3 separate regions of the Homo sapiens genome follow, and regions 1 and 3 are each linked to region 2. The links are contacts of gene promoters, found by promoter capture Hi-C in blood cells and fetal thymus (Javierre and others, 2016). All regions are on one chromosome and are shown on one strand. The core of a region is centred on a gene start or on the middle of the fragment in contact, and the rest is flanking DNA. Distances in the headings are between cores, read along the strand shown.

Region 1 (3,511 bases), core at 855-3,354, 1.9 Mb after region 2:
CCAAAGGACAGTCTGTGAGACCCCAGAGAATGCATTAAACCTGAAGAATTTCTGAACAATGACGTCTGATATTCAGGCTTCCGTTGTTTCTTTTTGTGCTGTAATCTTCCGTGTTTTCTCTGCACATAGCTCAGTAAAGCTCTATTCACCAGTTAACCTAGAGTCTGTCTTGAGATAAGCAGGGAGGGCTGTGACGGCTGCACAAGGGCGGAGTGGTTTGTAGACCTGAAAAGGAACTTGTAAGAGCTGGCAGATCTTAACCAGGAGAGGGAGCCCCTTTCCACAGCCTAGAAGCTTCTGAAGTCATTTAAATGGAACTGAATTATATGAAGTCAAATGTCAGTTGGGGAAAAAGTCAAACTTTATTATTTATTTATTTATTTGTAATTGTGCGTATACATATATATATATATATATATATATATATATATATATATATATATAATTTTTTTTAAATTATGATCTCCGTGATAGTACCAAATCAAACTTTTTTTGGAGACAGAGTCTTGCTCTGTCACCCAGGCTGGAGTGCAGTGGCGTGATCTCGGCTCACTGCAACCTCCGCCTCCCAGGTTCAAGCAATTCTCCTGCCTCAGCCTCCTGAAGAGCTGGGATTACAGGCGCGTGCCACCATGCCCGGCTAATTTTTGTATTTTTAGTAGAGATAGGGTTTCACCATGTTGGCCAGGCTGGTCTTGAACTCCTGACCTCAGGTGATCCACCCGCCTTGGCCTCCTAAAGTGTTGGAATTACTGGCATGAGCGACCACGCTGGCCCAAACCCTGCTTTTTACTGGAGAGACGAGGTAGCCCTAAGTTAAAAAAAAAAAAAAAAAGACCCTGTTTCACTTCTTTTGGATATACCCGGGGTGACATTGCTAGATCATTCTGCAATTCCTCCTTTTTTTTTTTTTTTTTTTTGCTGGGGGTGGGATAGAGTCTCACTCCCAGGCTGGAGTGCAATGGTGTGATCTTGGCTCACTGCAACCTCCGCCTCCTGGGCTCAAACGACTCTCCTGCAGTGAGGAGCTGGGATTACAGGTGCCTGCCACCACAACCTGCTAATTTTTTTTTTATTTTTTGTATTTTTAGTACAGACGGGGTTTCACTATGTTGGCCAGGCTGGTCTTGAACTCCTGACCCCGTGATCCGCCCGCCACAGCCTCTCAAAGTGCTGGGATGACAGGCATGAGCCTCCGCGCCCAGTAGATCATTCTGTAATTCTGTGTTTAACTTTTTCCCCCCTAAACTTAACTGAAGTGATATTTAACTTTCTGAGGAATCACCAAATCAAAGGTGACTTTTGAGACAAATACAGGAAGTGGAGGTGGTTTTCCTCATGTAGATGAAGACATTCTAAACCCAGAACTGAAAACACACATGGAATCCTTTTAAGTATCAGGATGCCTTGGTGGACAAAATGGATACATCCAACTTCTCAAGGAGCTTAATATTCAGTATTAAAGCTGAGGTGAGCTCAGGTGATTCACGCCTGTAATCCCAACATTTTGGGAGGCCAAGGCAGGCGGATCACTTGAGCCCAGGAGTTTAAGACCAGCCTGGGCAACATAGTGAGACCCCTCCCCCCTGCCCCCGTCTCTACAAAAAATAAAAAAATTACAGACGCATGGTGTAGTCCCAGCTACTTGGCAGTCAAAGGTAGAAGGACTGTTTGAACCCAGGAGTGGGTTGAAGCTGCAGTGAGCCTTGATTGTACCAGTAAACTTTAGCTTGGGAGGCAGTTGAGACCCTGTCTCAAAAAAAAAAAGAAAGGAAGAATTTCTCTCTCCCAACTTCCCTTGGTTTCTCCTCGCCCCCCGGCTAAAAAGTGATTGGGGACCTTTTAAAAAACTTCCTGCTCTCCACAGAATGGGATTACAGCCCCGAGATGATCCATAAAAGATTTTCAGGAAGAATGAAGAGTTTAGGGAGTGAAGGTTCTAAAACAGTAAATAGAGTGTCACAAAGAAATCCATTCATCTCTTTGAAGGCTGGGTATTTGGAAAAAGAGAGAAAGAAAGCTTCATTCAGAGAGCGCTCGCCTGTATTTAGGGGTGTTTGGAGGGGGCGGGGTGACTATAGAATTAGGGTAAAGTTCAGTGTCTTGCAAATCAGCCCTGAAATAGCCCTGATCCCTGCAGGCCTGTCTGGTTTCCCAAACCCTCCACTAGCTTTCAAATTTGCATTAAAAAGCTTTTGGCTTGTTCATTCTGTTCTTTCTTTCTTTTCTTTCTTTTATTTATTTATTTTTTTTGAGACGGAGTCTGGCACTGTCACCCAGACTGGAGTGCAATGGCGCGATCTCCGCTCACTGCAGCCTCTACCTCCCGGGTTCAAGCAATTCTCCTGCCTCAGCCTCCCGAGTAGCTGGGATTACAGGCGCCCACCGCCACACCTGGCTTATTTTTTTAATTTTTAATAGAGATGGGGTTTCTCCATGTTGGCCAAGCTGTTCTCAAACTTCTGACCTGGTGATCCACCTGCCTCAGCCTCCCAAAGTGCTGGGATTACAGGCGTGAGCCACTGCGCCAGGCCCTCATTCTGTTACTTCTTTCTTTCTTTTTTCATTAATTTAAGTTCTGGGATACACATGCGGGATGTGCAGGTTTGCTACATAGGTAAATGCGTGCCGTGGTGGTTTGCTGAACCTATTGACCTAGGTATTAAGCCTCACAGCCATTAGCTATTTGTCCTGATGCCCTTCTGCCTCCTGCCCATTCTTTGTTATTTCTTCATATTCCAATTAATGTTCATTTTGAGGACCTGGCTCTGGCCAGGCAAGGTTCCAGTCTGGAGTCAAACTGAGGAAAGTATTACCTTTCACAAACACTTAGACCACGTTGGGAGGGGAGAATGATTGTCCTCCACATGCGTATGGGTGTGTTATAAACCCCAGGAAGGTAAATACTAAGCAAAGGCGTGCACAGATAATTATTGCAACTGATGATTCCACGTCAATTGTACTGTACTGTGAGTAGGTTTATAGGCTGCCGTGACAGGGGCCATCACCTGGGTACGAGGGTGCTGGCTTCCTCTTGAAGACGTGACTTTAAAATTGTGAGTTGAATAGATGCAAGGATATTGGCCCAGTGGAGGAACTTTGAGGGGAGGGGGCAGGGTATCCTGGTTGGGAGGAAATTACATACAGAAATTGGGGAGTGGTGACAACATTGACTCTTCCAGTAATTGTCTGGGTGTGGTAACTCAGGACTGTAATCCCAGCACTTTGGGAGGCTGAGATGGGAGGATTGCTTGAGCTTGGGAGTTCCAGATCAGCCTAGGTAACACGAGGAGATCTAAAATTGAAAAAAAACGTAGCTGGGTGTGGTGGCTCATTCCTATAATCCCAACAACTTTGACTCAGGAGGCTGAAGTGGGAGGATCCCTTAAGGTCAGGAGGTTGAGGCTGAAGTGAGCTAGCACTTTGGGAGGCCGAGGTATGTGGATTACTTGAGGCCAGGAGTTCGAGACCAGGCTGGCTAACATGGTGAAACCCCATCTCTACTAAAAAT
Region 2 (3,008 bases), core at 369-2,868:
GAGTAAAATACCCATCAGATTTCAAAGACTTAGTATGAAAAAAATATTGTGACCATCTCATTAATAGTTTTTATATTGACTACATGTTAAAATGATAATAATTTGGCTATTTAAGTTTAGGTTAGATATTTTATTAAAATTAAGTTCGCATGTTTCTCTTCACCTTTTTAAAGTGCCTACTTGACACTTTGAAATTACATATGTGTCTCACATTTCTAATGAACTTTGATACTCTACAATCTCAGAAACAACTCAGAGATGTCTCCCTCCCCTACCACCCATCCAACCACCAAAATACCCTGAGGACTCTTTGTCCTCAAGAATCTCTAAGGCAACCAGTTCAGAAGATTGTTGCAATGAATGATGAGGATTCTGCAATAATGAGCTGGAACATACCAGAGAGGAAAACCTGTGCAATTTTGTCCAATTATGGTTCAAGGGAAAAATCCTGTGATTTGCAATGAACACAGGCCTTGGTGGCTGCCATCGATGAAGGACTTTATGCTTGATAATCATTGTACCACATCCTCAACTTTCTTGCCTCTGATCTCAACAAACTCAGCATTGATTATACATCATCATCCCTGTGTGACGGAAGAGGAAACTAGGAGCTTGATGAGAAATGACAGCCAATGTCTGCAGATTCATGAGAGGGCAGGGCTGTATTCCGCTACTGGGTCCTATGCACCATGCAGAACCAGTGTCTTCACGTGGAGACTCATCACTGATCCGAAAGGTGACTGCTTCTGTATTACACTCATTTCCCCATGACCCATCATAAAGTCGTTAGGGCTCTTTTGCTTTCTCCTGAAAGCTTCAAACCAAACATCCTTTCCCATCCCGACTCAAGCCCTCAAGCTGATGCCCTTGCCTCTTGCTCCACCAGATTCTCCTCCTGCTGGCTCCTGCATCACTGTTCTCTGCCCTCATCTCTGTAACCAGAAAACAAGTGTTTCCATCCAAGAATTACCCTCTACTGGTCCCATAAAACTCATTCCCCCATTTACTCAAGAACTTCCCTCCTTCACTTATCCCTTCTCTCTCCTGCAGCCTCATAGTGTCTCTATATTCCATCATTCCCATCAGGACCCCAATAAAGTCTAGAGCCTATTTGTTTATTTATTTATTTACTTATTTATTTGAGATGGAGTCTCACTCTGTCACCTAGGCTGGAGTACAGTGGTGCAATCTGAGCTCACTGCAACCTCCACCTCCCAGATTCAAGCAATTCTCCTGCCTCAGCCTCCCAAGTAGCTTGAATTACAGACGCCCACCACCACGCCTGGCTAATTTTTGTATTTTTAATAGAAGTGAGGTTTCAACATGTTGGCCAGGCTGGTCTCGAACTCCTGACCTCAAGTTATCCACCTGCCTTGGCCTCCCAAAGTGCTGGGATTACAAGCATGAGTCACCGTGCCCGGCCTGTTTAGAACCTCTTTAAAAAAATTATTCTTCAACTCCACATCCTTCTTCAAACAAAGAGTCTATTGTGTTCACCAGTGTATTAAGTGTGTCTATGTCAAGCTACCCAGTCCCCCAGAATATGTTTCTTACCTGGACTGTTCACCAGCTGTGGTCTTGCTCTGGGTAGTTCTAGGTCTGGGTCTCCTGGGGAGAGTGACTCAGGCTCTAATGATTGCAGCAAAACATACACCAAGGAACAGGAGGAGGGGTAAAGGAACTAAAACCAGCTGGGTAGCAGGAAATAGGAAGTCTGAGCTTCTTCTGATTTTTGATGGCCCCAAGAATACACCAATATACTGTCTGCTTTAATGGCATTAGGACAGTGGGCTGGGCCTGTTTAGAAACTCATGTACCTGACTGTATTTCTCAGCCTCAGTCTCTGTGGGATGCAGAGGTTCAGTGCTCTCAACAACAAGGGCCAAGAAATCCAAGTGTCCGGGCCCCTGCTCCCTCCAAGGGTCAAGGTAAAGAAAGCAGCAAGCACTGTGGTGAGAAGAATCAGAGGGAGGCAATGAAAGGAAGAGAAGAAGTCATGAGGGATGGAGACCAGAAACACAGAGAGAGGTAAGGGAGTGGGGGAAGTTGAGACAGTTGGCAGGACAGCGCGTCCACACCCATGCACACCACCAAGATTAACCCCATAATCCTCTGATCTTGTGGAAGCTCATTTGTAGTCTTCTAGCCCAAAGAAATAACCGTTTTTCTGAAATGTTAAGCATCCTTCCAAGGGTATCAGAGTGATATGGAGAAATATGGTAAGACAGTTACAGAATCAGAGATAACGACACTGATTCTAAAAGCATTATTACCAAGGCATTGTTGCATTAAGACTGTTTTTTCTTTTCTTTTAGAGACAGTATCCTGCTACGTTGCCCAGGCATGTCTCAGACCCCTGGGTTTAGTGATCCTCCTGCCTCAGCCTCCCCAAATGCTGGGATTACAGGCATGAGCCGGGCTGTTTTTAATTCTAAGTAATTTATAATTTACAATTACACCTAACAATGGCTTCAACAAGGGGTGTCCAATCTTTTGCCTTCCCTGGGCCACACTGGAAGAAGAAGAATTGTCTTGGGCCACACATAAAATACACTAACACTAACGATACCTGATGAGCTAAAAAAAAAAAAAAAAAAAAAAATCCCCCAAAAATCTGATAATGTTTTAAGAAAGTTTATGAATTTGTGTTGGGCTGCATTCAAAGCCATCTTAGGCCATGGGCTGGACAAGCTTAGCTTAGAACCAAGACGAAATTTATGGTTTACTTTACAAGAATTTTGCAAGAGGGTAATACTAGGTTAGGTTATATCTGGAAAATATCATCAAGAACTACATTCATTTTAATCTTTTCTCTTTTTTATCCCTAATATGGTGACTTTTTTTCCTGGGGATTGCCACTTCATGGCTCCAAGAAAGCTACCACAGCTCCTGACTTCACATTACAGCAGGGGTCCCCAACCTCCAGGCCATAGACCAATACACAGACCGATACCGGTCTGTGGCCTGTTAGGAAGTGGGCTGCACAGCAGGTGACTGGCAGGTGAGCA
Region 3 (3,194 bases), core at 325-2,824, 1.9 Mb after region 2:
ACTCTGTCTCGAAAAAAGAAAAAAGAAGAAGGAAAAAGAAATGATCCATGGGTGAGGGGTTGGATATCCTAGATGCCGTGACATGATGATCATTACCTACTCCATTCATGTATCAAAATATCACGTGCCCCATTAATATGTACAATTATTATGTATCAAATAAGAAAAAAGTTCCCTTCATTGGCTGTTTTAATTTTATACCACCCTAAGTGAAATATTGCCACTTAGAAAGCTTAGCTGCAGGTTTAGTAAATTATAGTGAAGAAACACACCTGAAGCTGGAGCTCTGCCGGGGGCAGGTGCAAGGGCTGATGTGGAGTCCCAGCTTGTCCAACCAGCGGCCCATAGGCTGCCTGCAGCTCAGGATGGCTTTGAATGTGGTCCCACACAAATTCAGAAACTTTCTTAAAACATTACGAGTTTGTTTGTGATTCTGGGTTTTTTTCAGCCCATCAGCTATCGTTAGTGTATTTTATGTGTACCCGGAGACAATTCTTCTTCTTCCAATGTGGCCCAGGGAAGCCAAAAGATTGGACACCACTGATTGTAGACAAATAAGGAGGCCACCTTCAGACAGAGCACTGTACGCTGTTTTGTTCTTGTTTTTCTTTGAGATGGAGTCTCGCTCTGTCTCCCAGGCTGGAGTGCAGTGGGACCATCTCGGCTCAATGAAACCTCCGCCTCCCAGGTTCAAACGATTCTCCTCCCTCAGCCTCCAAGTAGCTGGGATTACAGGCAACCAACACCATGCCTGACCAATTTTTGTATTTTTAGTAGAGACAAGGTTTCACCATGTTGGCCAGGCTGGTCTCAAACTCCTGACCTCAGGTGATCCAACTGCCTCGGCCTCTGAAAGCACTGGGATTACAGGCGCGAGCCACAGAGCCCAGCCACAAAGTGACCTTCTAAAAAAAACAAAAAATCCTTTTTGCAAGACAAAAAGTGCTCTCATGATAATTTTTTTAAATTTTTTTTTGAGACATGGTCTCGCTGTGTCACTCAGGCTGGAGTGCAGCAGGCTCAAGGCATCCTCCCACTTGAGCCTCCTGAGTAGCTGGGACTATAGTCCCACATTACCACACCCAGATAATTTTTGTATTTTTGGTACAGATGGGGTTTTGCCATGTTGCCTACACTGGTCTTGGACTCCTGGGCTGAAGTGATCCACCCGCCTCAGCCTCCCAAAGTTCTGGGATTATAGGCACGAGCCTCCGCGCCTGGCCCTAATATTTATGGTGGAAATAAGGAGATGATTGCGGTACGATTTCATGCCTTCCACAGTTTATTGACATAAAAAGAGATTTTTAAAAAAAACATTGACAATGCTTAAGGAGGAGAAGAATAACACGAACACACTTCATAGAATGCACTCTGTAGGCAAAGTACGTTAACCGAATAGTGAGTGAGTTCCAAATTTTTAAAGTCCTGTTGCTCACAGGATGGAGGAAGGACTATGTGAAAAGTAAAGTCTAATTCAAATTTGAGGTGAACTGGCTGGGCGCAGTGGCTCACGCCTGGAATCCCAGCACTCTGGAAGGCCGAGGCAGGTGGATCACCTGAGGTCAGGAGTTTGAGACCAGCCTGACCAATATGGTGAAAACCCGTCTCTGTTAAAAATACAAAAATTAGCCGGGCATGGTGGTGGGCGCCTGTAATCCCAGCTACTCGGGAGGCTGAGACAGGAGAATTGCTTGAATCCGGGAGGTGGAGGTTGCCGTGAGCCGAGATCGTGCCACTGCACTCTAGCCTGGGTGACAGAGCGAGACTCCACCTCAAAAAAAAAAGTAAGCTGGGTGGTGCAGTGGCTCACGCCTGTAAAACACTAACACATTGGGGGGCCAAGGCAGGAGAATCGCTTGAGCCCAGGAATTCAAGACCAGCCTGAGAAACATAGGAAGACCCCATCTCTACAAAAAATTTAAAAATGAGTGGGCATGGTGGCATACACCTGTAGTCCCAGCTAGTTAGGAGGCTGAGACAGGAGGGTGGCTTGAACCCAGGAGGTTGAGGTTGCAGTGAGCTATGATCCTACCACTGCCTGGACAACAGAGTGAAACCGGTCTCAAAAACAAAACACAAAAAAGCAGACAGCAGCATAGAAATAGGATTGGACGTGGCCGGGTGCAGTGGCTCACGCCTGTAATCCCAGCTCTTTGGGAGGCCGAGGCAGGTGGATCACTTGAGGTCAGGCGTTCGAGACCAGCCTGGCCAACATGGTGAAACCTCGTCTCTATGAAAAATACAAAAATTAGCCGGCCATGCTGGCAGGCGCCTGTAATCCTAGCTAATTGGGAGGCCGGGACAGGAGAATGGCTTGAACCCGGGAGGCGGAGGTTGCAGTGAGCTGAGATTGTGCCACGGCATTCCAGCCTGGGCAACAGAGTGAGACTCGGTCTCAAAAAGAAAAAAAGAAAAAAAAGACCCCCTCTCTATGTTAAAGAATATTTTTAAAAAAGGAAGAAAGAAAAGAAATAGGATTGGACAAAATGGATCTGATCTAAAGGTCATAGACTGCAGGGGTCGGGCGGACGGGGAACCCAGCAAACCTGTCTCTCTGCATTCCTCCTGGCCTCTCTGAGCAGCCTTCCCTCCTGCTGGGCAGAGGGCAGAAGCCTCTCTGGAATGAGGGTCATAGACCTAAAACCAAACAAGATAGGACAGGAATTCCTTTATGGTCAGTGTTTACAGGGAAGATGGAGGGAAAATTAGAGTCAGAGATTTTAGGTTTTATGGCAGGATTTGGGGAAAAGGGATTCTGGTGTCTATGGCTCACTTTGGGAAAGACAGTTTCTAGTTTCTATGGCTAGCCTTGGGGGAGAAGGAGGGTCAGGAAGAAACTTCCGCTTCTGAAGCTGCTTCGGAAGCCTTTGTTTTGAGGTTATCGGTTTCTGAGCCCCAATATTAGCCTGCCACAGTCTAAGCTTTCAAAGCGCCTGTCAAACTCTTGTGGATCTATGTATTTCAAAGACCAAAATCAACAGCTCACATATGGGGTCCAAGAGGAGGGGGGAGGTCACTGCACGTTGTCACGTGTGAGATCTTTGTTGTTGTTGTTGAGATGGAATCTCGCTCTGTCACCCAGGCTGGAGTGCAGTGGCACCATCTCAGCTCGACTGTAACCTTCACCTCCCAGGTTCTAGCAATTATCCTGCCTCAGCCTCCCAAGTATCTGGAATTACGGGTGCGTGCCATCA

Evidence for each region. Contacts are between HindIII fragments. The CHiCAGO score rates a contact against its expected background, and 5 or more counts as called.
Region 1: a contact is called between a fragment that was not itself captured here and the fragment with the promoter of FPR1 in region 2, in 5 of 17 cell types (naive CD4 T cells, fetal thymus, total B cells and 2 more). The highest score is 7.9, in naive CD4 T cells.
Region 3: a fragment that was not itself captured here is called in contact with the fragment with the promoter of FPR1 in region 2 in 1 of 17 cell types (fetal thymus); the score reaches 9.2 in fetal thymus.

Annotation. Positions count from the first base shown.
Region 1 is chr19:53,659,263-53,662,773 of GRCh38, forward strand. All of the region lies in intron 2 of LOC107985342 (a long non-coding RNA gene), which reads left to right. Among named protein-coding and RNA genes, the nearest start is that of MIR512-1, 5.7 kb to the right of the region's middle. RefSeq lists enhancers at 1,079-1,968, 1,969-2,858. The HindIII fragment of the contact is 172 bases long and covers 2,019-2,190 here.
Region 2 is chr19:51,750,260-51,753,267 of GRCh38, forward strand. It overlaps FPR1 (formyl peptide receptor 1), which reads right to left and starts at 1,619. Exons shown (of 2, transcript NM_002029.4): 1 at 1,555-1,619. The HindIII fragment of the contact is 1,877 bases long and covers 813-2,689 here.
Region 3 is chr19:53,610,310-53,613,503 of GRCh38, forward strand. It overlaps a transcript of DPRX not described here. Among named protein-coding and RNA genes, the nearest start is that of DPRX, 20 kb to the right of the region's middle. RefSeq lists enhancers at 1,448-2,441, 2,442-3,194. The HindIII fragment of the contact is 2,689 bases long and covers 231-2,919 here.